Regions from separate parts of the Homo sapiens genome. Here region 2 is linked to region 1. Evidence: promoter capture Hi-C in human tissues and cell types (Jung and others, 2019). All regions are on one chromosome and are shown on one strand. The core of a region is centred on a gene start or on the middle of the fragment in contact, and the rest is flanking DNA. Distances in the headings are between cores, read along the strand shown.

Evidence for each region. The method cuts DNA at HindIII sites, captures the fragments that hold promoters and counts their contacts. A contact is called where the count stands out against the background at its distance.
Region 2: a fragment that was not itself captured here is called in contact with the fragment with the promoter of HS3ST5 in region 1 in 1 of the 25 tissues and cell types used here (aorta).

Annotation. Positions count from the first base shown.
Region 1 is chr6:114,341,115-114,345,165 of GRCh38, forward strand. HS3ST5 (heparan sulfate-glucosamine 3-sulfotransferase 5) reads right to left here and starts at 1,909. Exons shown (of 5, transcript NM_153612.4): 1 at 1,081-1,909. It overlaps LOC107986638 (a long non-coding RNA gene), which reads left to right and starts at 1,211. Exons shown (of 8, transcript XR_002956366.2): 1 at 1,211-1,275. The HindIII fragment of the contact is 10,455 bases long and covers 1-4,051 here.
Region 2 is chr6:114,394,745-114,398,795 of GRCh38, forward strand. LOC107986638 (a long non-coding RNA gene) reads left to right here. Exons shown (of 8, transcript XR_002956366.2): 3 at 470-537. Among named protein-coding and RNA genes, the nearest start is that of HS3ST5, 54 kb to the left of the region's middle. RefSeq lists a silencer at 3,801-4,051. The HindIII fragment of the contact is 3,500 bases long and covers 551-4,050 here.

The sequences.
Region 1 (4,051 bases), core at 659-3,158:
AGAAACTGGTATTCGTATTCGGAGACAGAGAGGAGAGGGGGAGAGAGGGGAGGGAGGGAGGGAGAGGGAGAGGGAGAGGGAGAGGGAGAGGGAATAGGGAGAGAGGGGGAGAGAGAGAGAGAGAGAGAGAGAGAGAGAGAGAGAGAGTGAGTCCCACCGGGTGAAGACAGGGTAGACCACGAATGTGAGCATCAGCTCCCTTGGGTGGGTGCCCTGAAGCACTGAAGTAGGGAAGCGGAAGAGTAGAGGAAACCCACCAAGGTGAAGTGACTCCGGAGTTGTTTGTTTGCTGGGCGCTTGGAACCTCCAGGTAAAGACATCCACCTTAAGCTGGACGCTCCTTGCAGGTTGCCCTAAACCAAGGTGGTCGCCCAAGTAACAGGAGCAGGAGTCTCAGCGCTCCAGTGAGTAGCGACAGCGACCTCTCAGACTTGTTTGTAGTAACAGTATGACCACCCTTCGACTGCATCCATCCCGCGCGCGCGCGCGCGTGTGTGTTGGGTGGGAAGAGATGCATAAAGTGGGGCTGTGAGGGGTGTGGGGGGGGCCAGCTGGGAAGAGAAAACCCCACCCACATGTTAACTTAGCCTTTGCCTGTTCTTTGCCTGCCCTCTGCCTGTCCTCTGCTGGGGCCTCGCAGGCCCCCACTGTCCCAAAGCTGCCCTCGCGCTCCAAACAGCTCCACAGCCACCCCAGAAGTGACCGAACGCGAACCCCTAAACTCTGGCGAGCGCAGTAAACGCGTGTTCCCTTTCTCCCTCAAAGAGAGCGCTACCCAGCGCTCTGGGAGAGACTGAGAGAGAAACAGACAGGCAGGCTGACTGACACCTTCTGTCTAATTTTACCCCAGGAATTGCCCCCGCCGTTTCTCATCTCGCACTAGTTTAACCTCTGGTCCTAAGCAAACCTCTCAAAAGTCTTCCCCAGGCAGCGCCCAGGAGAACCGAACCCCACAAAGTGCTTTTTTGCTGGCATCACCCGGATGCTTCCCTTTGGCGATTTGCCCCTTCTCATTTCCCCCCAAATCTAGAGGTCTCAAAGCCCCTCCCCCGCGCGAGGCGGGCAGCGCGCCTTGCTCACCGTGGTCCCCGGCGGTGGCGGCGCGGGCGGGAGCCTCAGGGCGCGGGGGTCGGCGGCGGGTCGCGTGGGGGTCACCCGGCCGCTGCTGCGGTCCGGACGGCAGTTGGTCCAGTAGTTTCGGATGCCCGGGCTAGGCTCGGCGGAGAGCGAGTCGGCGTGAATGAGAGCAAACCAACAGGGCTGTGCGTGGCGCGTGTGAGTAAGACGCGAGCGGGCCCCACACGCAGGCGGCGGCGGCGGCGGCGGCGGCGGCGAGGTCTGAGGCGGGGAGCCGGGCGGGGGGGCAGGCGGGCGAGAAGTAGTGGAGTTTAGGGCGCGTTTCCTGCACTTCCCCGAGAGGCTGGAACCAGGTGCGGCAGGGCGCGCTCCCGTGGCGCGGGCACGGCACGGGCGGCCGCAGGAGCCGGAGTCCGCGCAGTGCCGGAGACCGCAGCCGCTCTGCGGGGGGAGGTGCGCATCCTCCTTGCCCCACGAGGGCACCGGCGCAGCCCCGGACCCTGCGCGCAGAGGGCGAGACTTCGGGCGTCCTCGGTGACAGCTCCTCGGGCAGCCCGCTCCCTCCCAATCCGCCCAAAAGAGCAACACTCAGTGTGACTGGGATCTTCCCTTCCTGCGTCCTCGAGCCTCCGGTGCCAAGCTGTGCGGGCGCCCCGCTCCCCGCGGCTGGCGCTGTCACGGCCGCCGCCCGGCCCCCAGAGCGCCCGAGCCGGCAGCTGCCTCCCGGAGACGTGCCCAGCTGTGTGCGCGTGTGTGTGTCTAAGCGAATCTCTTCCCCTCCATCACTTGGGCGCGCAGGAGGGACCGGGTCCCTGGCGACCAGCTGCAGAGTGGCTGCCAGTCCACACCCTCCCGGCTCTCTCCCCACCCACCCCGCCCCTACTCCTCCTCGCCTTCCCCTCCTCCCCGTGCTCCTCCTCCAGCTGCCGCTCCCGAGCTCCCAAAGGCAGCGGAGAAACCGCAGCGAAAGGGAGGAGGAGGAGGGTGGGGAAGGAAGCGCAGGTGTCTTCGGCGGAGAGACGGGCGCACGCACCGGAGCGGCTTGCTGCAGGGGGAGGGCAGGGCCTTAGGCGGAGAAAGGGGAGGAGGAGGATTTACCCGGAGGCGGAGGTCCCGCAGCTGAGCCACTGCGCGTCCCACCCAGGCGCTGGAACCGCGGGCGAGCAGCGCAGTGGGGCTGCCGGGTGGGCGCGCAGGGCTCCCAGTTGGACTGAGGTCGCAGCTTGGGGAACCTGCGGAGGTGACCAGGGTGGCAGAACTCGGGGACACAGAGGTCGGAGGGACCCAATTGCTGAGGCGCTGAGACCGGTCTCTCTGGGGTGAGGGGGATGCCTAGACCCAGAGCTTGGGGCACACAGGTGTCCAGGAAGCTGGTGTGTGTGGCTCCAGAGTGCCAGGCGGGAGAGCCGGAGGCGGTGAAGGGTCGGGCGGCGGCCGCGGCGTGCTTGGGGCTGCTGTGTGCATCCGGAGTCACAGGGGGCGATCACCGCCTAGCTGGGAAGCGGAGCTCAGGACTCAGCCTTCTTTCAGGTCCCAAGTCCAAAAGCCGAGAGGCACACTAGCCTTCCCAATTTAGTCTGTGTTCCTCCAACCCTTTGCCCCCAGCAAAACAACAGGCCAGGAGCTGATTCTACCTGCTACTTACTGTGCTCTTTACCGGACTGAAAGGACTCTACTGCTCCAAGGAGACTGATGTGTTGCTTCCTCTCTCCCAACTCTAGTCCCCTCCCTCAACATACATTCCTACCCAACCAAAATTATCCAGAACATTGTATTTCTCATTGATAAACTTTTTCCCTCTGGGGTTCCCTAAAAATGAAAATCTTTCCTCCCTTTTTATCTGTAGAGGCATTAAGTCTCTTGCTTACATTTCATAGTACAAATGCAGTACACAGAAAAGTCCTTTAGGCAAGAAATCACAGCATTATTGCTTATGACGGCTTGTCTGTTTTCAAATGACAGTCGCAGAATGCAAATTTGTGTCAACCTGAGGTCAGTGGAGAGAGTTGGTCCATTTAATTAGAGGTATTTTGGAAGGAATCTGGGAAACAACACTAGAAAGAATTGCTGTACTTTCTCCAGTACCCATTCCTTTTTATTATGGTAATTTCACTCTGTTAATTTAGGCAATCTGAAAATGAAAGGTCGGATGCAATTTACAAGGCACAATATTTCTAGATTCTCATTCAACAGCCCGCCCCACCTCCTTCCTCCCACCACTCTTACCATCACCTCAAAAGGTCATGAGCTAAGAACCGAAACTGCACTTTTTAAATCTCAGGATATAGCCTGAATGACAAAGCTGTTGAGTTTTAGAAAGAGACCAGTTAAGTCTAAACTTATTTACCAACTACTCAGACAAAATCATATGCTCAGCAGCAACAATAAAATGTATACTGTGTAATATATTGAGCAGGAGGAAAGATGGCTGTTTGCCAGATATGTGATCCATTAACCTCTTTAGCTCATTGTTGGCAACAATAGCATACAATCACATTCCTATGTTTGAAAGACAAGAGATTTTTTTTTCCCATCTTAAAATCACAATGCCACATTATAGTCTAAAAGAAACCTCAAACAATAAAAGTAATAAGAAAGGAAGAAACATGGTTTGTTTTTTTTCTGAACAAATGTTGCTGTTCTGTTTTTTTTTCTTGAGGGGAAAAATGCTGATAAGCAATAAAGTCCACAAAAGCATGACAATAGATTTTGAAGAATGCATCACTCCATCTATTAGTCCTTTCAATTAGTAAACTTTATTTAAAAGGTTTATTTATATTATCTTTTGATTGGTATTCAGTCTTTCTTTTGTGCCTGGAAGATGACTGAGAAGGAGGATGGGTGAGCTGAATCTGGTTTCTCATAATTCTGTCTTGCATCAGGTTTATGTCTGGCAGGAGAGGAATGCTCAGCAGCCTGTGCTTTCTCAGCAATCCTAACTTCTCCTCAGAGGATCCTTTGCTCTGTAGCTGAT
Region 2 (4,051 bases), core at 1,051-3,550, 54 kb after region 1:
GAGCTATATAGTTGGAGCTGCATGTTTTAGGCATGTAAGCCTTATTCAATTCTACTTTGAATATAATTAATATTTTAGTAAAAATTTAATCTCTTATCCTATTATAGGAATTCTGTGCTCAAGAATTTTTGCAACCATCAAATCCTAGAAATTAGAGTCCAAACATTACTATCAGATACCATTTTTACCTTATAAACTAATTAAAGATTTTAGCCAAACTTCTAAATAATGAGATTTAAAACATTCATAAGGAATTAATATTCTAGCATTTCTTCTTCACAAAGTACTTACCCAGTGAACAAAGAAATTTCAACTTACCAAAACAACAAAATACTGCATATATTTGAGGATTCTTCCAACTGGAACTAAACAGTTGGAGCTGTATGTTTTAGGCATGTAAGCCTTATTCAATTCTACTTTGAATATAGTTAATATTTTAGTAAAAATTTAATCTCTTATTCTGTTATAGGAATTCTGTGCTCAAGAATTTTTGCATCCATCAAATCCTAGAAATTAGAGTCCGCACATTACTACCAGGTACCATTTTTACCTTATACCCTAATTAAAGATTTTAGCCGAACTTCTAAATAATGAGATTTAAAATATTCATAAGGAATTAATAATCTAGCATTTGTTCTTCACAAAGTACTTACTCAGTGAACAAAGAATTTTAAATTTACCGAAAAAACAAAAGACTTCATATATTTGAGGATTCTCAGTATGTCCTTCAGGTGGGAGCTAATCATAATTCCAAAACAAACAAACACAAATGCCATAGTCCCAAGTGTTGAAATTCCAAAAGATCAAAATACTGAAAATATAATTCTAAAAAAGTTTAAAAAATTGTATTTACACTTTTAAAAGGAGATTTATTTGAGAAACATAAAAACACAACAAAACACTTCCTAGGCCATTTTACATAAGAAAATAGGCAATAATAACATGCATATTTTTGCAAGCATTAACACTTTGGCATACTAATGACAGTTGCATGGGTATAACAGTTATAAGCAGTCAAGTTGTATTCATATAAATAGGTCAAAAGTGAAATATATACTATAGTTGGTAATTACGTGTGTCTAGCTTTATAACTTTGGTCATATGAAACATAATGACAGACAACATAAATCTTGTCTTGGCGAGACTGTTGGAAAACCATGATGAGATACTGTCACAAATGTAATCACCCAAAGAGTCAAGATCTCAAGAAATTGTATCTTTCACAAATGCAGATCTACAAAAAGGACATTTCTTCATTTAGTGAGGAAATTTCAACATTTCTATATAAATGTGCAGTGCTTATACATAAAGTCAACATTGTGATAATGCACTTCAATGGAATCAAATTTGCAGCATAAAACAAATTAGAACTCTCTAAAAGTCTCCACACAATTTAGATCTCTAATATGGGATATGATGTGAAGATGAAATACATAGCATAACAAATTGGCGCTATGTGTGAAGAGGTAGAAGTTATATGTGATTGGATAATTTGGCTTGGAGGACTTCTTGTATTTTTCATCTGTGTTTTTACTTCTGTGATCTGTATTTGGACAGTGGTTGTGGTCTACAAATTTTGTAAGTATATGCAGTCCATCTGAAAGTCTGATTATTGCTTGGCCTTTGCAATTAAGGGATTTTCAGCTTTTGCAGCACCAATAATAATTAGCTTTTAAACTTTTATCTTTCACTATTAAGAAGCCTCATACACTTAACTTATCACAGCCTTTTTGTGAGGGAACAATTTCACAGATCTCTTCCACTGTGTTGTAAGGAATACAGTAGCAGGAATGATACTTGGCTTCCTCAACGCCAAGTGTGTATTAGTAACGGATCTTCAGAGAGACTCAATCAATAGGATATGTATATAGATACACAAGAGGGGATTTTTAGAAGAATTGGCTAACATCTTTATGGTGGCTGAGAAGTCATAGCACAGGTCGTCTACAAGTTGGAGACCCTGAGATGCTGGTAGTGTGGCTCAGTCTAAGTCTAGTAACCTCAGAACCCAGGAAGCTGGTGTAAGTTTCAATCTGAGGTCAAAAGCTTCAGGACCCAAGAAACAGCTGGTGGAGGTCCTGGAGTCCAAAAGTCAGCAAACCTAGAATTCTGATGTCCAAGGCGGCAGAATAAAAGTCTTTTCAGTTTGGGAGGCTGAGGTGGGTGGATCACCTGAGGTCAGAAGTTTGAGACCAGCCTAGCCAACATGGCAAAACCCCATCTCTACTAAAAATACAAAAATTAGCCAGGTGTGGGGACACGTGCCTGTAGTCCCAGCTACTTGGGAGGCTGAGGCAGGAGAATCACTTGAACCTGGGAGGCAGAGGTTGCAGTGAGCTGAGATCACGCCACTGCACTCCAGCCTGTGGGTGACACAGTTGGACTCTGTCTCAAAAATAATAATAATAATAATAATAATAATAGTAAAAAGTATTTTCAGTTATCAGAGAGAGACCAATTTACCCTCAGCATTTGTTCTCTCCAGGTCCCTGTCTGATTGAATAATGCCTACCAACTTTGAGGGCAGGTCTTCCCTGCCTAGTCCACTCAGATTCACACCCTAATCTCTTCTGGAAATACCTTCACAGACACATGCAAAATAATGCTTTACCAGGTTTCTAGGCATTCTTTAATCCAGTCAACTTGACACCTAAAATTAAGTCCACAGGTTGGCGCACTGTCAATTTAGCACTCATATATAACCCCTTAAACCAAGCTTGTCCAACCTATGGCCCATGGGCCACATGAGGCCCAGGATGGCTTTGAATGTAGCCCAATGCAAATTGATAAGCTTTCTTAAAACATTATGAGAATTTTTGTGATTTTTAAAAAAATCTCATCAGCTGTCGTTAGTGTTAGTGTATTTTATATGTGGCCCAAGGCAGTTCTTCTTCTTTTAATGTGGCCCAGGGAAGCCAAAAGATTGGACACCCTTGCCTTAAACCATACTTAATTTCCAAATAAAGACAATAACAAGTTAATAGCTCTACCTAACATAATGCAACTATTCTGTGACTGTGAATTTCAAGATTTTAGACATTGGGGATTTTAGACTTTAGAAATTTTGATCTTTTGAGATTTCAACATTTGGGATTATGGCATTTAGGATTGTGTCTTTTGGGATTATAATCCAAACCCCCTTTGGGCAAACTCATTTAACACACATTCTCATAAGTCTGTATATATTTAAATAAGGTTGTGACATGAGTATACAACTTTTCGTTGAATAAAGATACAAACTGATTCCCTTATATCAGCAAGTCATATAGATTCTCTTTGTCAGAAGATATTTACAATTTTAATTTTTTGCTTTATAAATTCTAGTAAGAGCTTCTGGCCTTTCTTGGCTGTGAGTTAAAAAACTGACTTCATAATTCCTTCCTTCCTTCTTTTCATTCTTCCATATGTCTTTTTTCTTTATTTTGCTCTTCTGCCCCCCACCATCTTCAGTCCACTCAATAGCCAGTTCCTACTCTAAAAACAGCAAATGGAATTACAATAAACTAATATACTTAACTTGTCTTGCAGAGTCCACTGCGTCTTTTGGTTCATCATTATTTTGTGCGTAGAGATTTTTGTTTTTTCACCGAATATAATTGCGTTGACTTCCTACCAAGTGGTATAATTCTCAATTCTTTCTCACACATCTCTTTCTTACACATTTAGAAGTTGAGCCCACACCCATTCTCTAATCATCACAGCTGACGTTCATTTGCTGTTCTCTCGTTATTTCAATCATTTGCTTCTTGGGTTTTAGAGTCTGTTCATTTTTTTTTTTTTTTTTTTTTTTGCTTGACCAAAAGAGACTAGAAGGCTGTGAGTTGTGGCTCTTCTTACGAATTGCATGTGCTTAGTTTACTGTTTGTATTAACATCTCACCTGGGAGGCAGAGACACATGAAAACAAGATTCAGAGCTCTAAGGACATTACTGATGATGCAAGCTGATACAGACAGGAAAATCAACAGAGCCCAGCAACATCAAAGCAGCACTTGCTCTTTGGTCATTTAGGAATTGAATCAAGAATACCTAATGTTAAATGACGAGTTAAT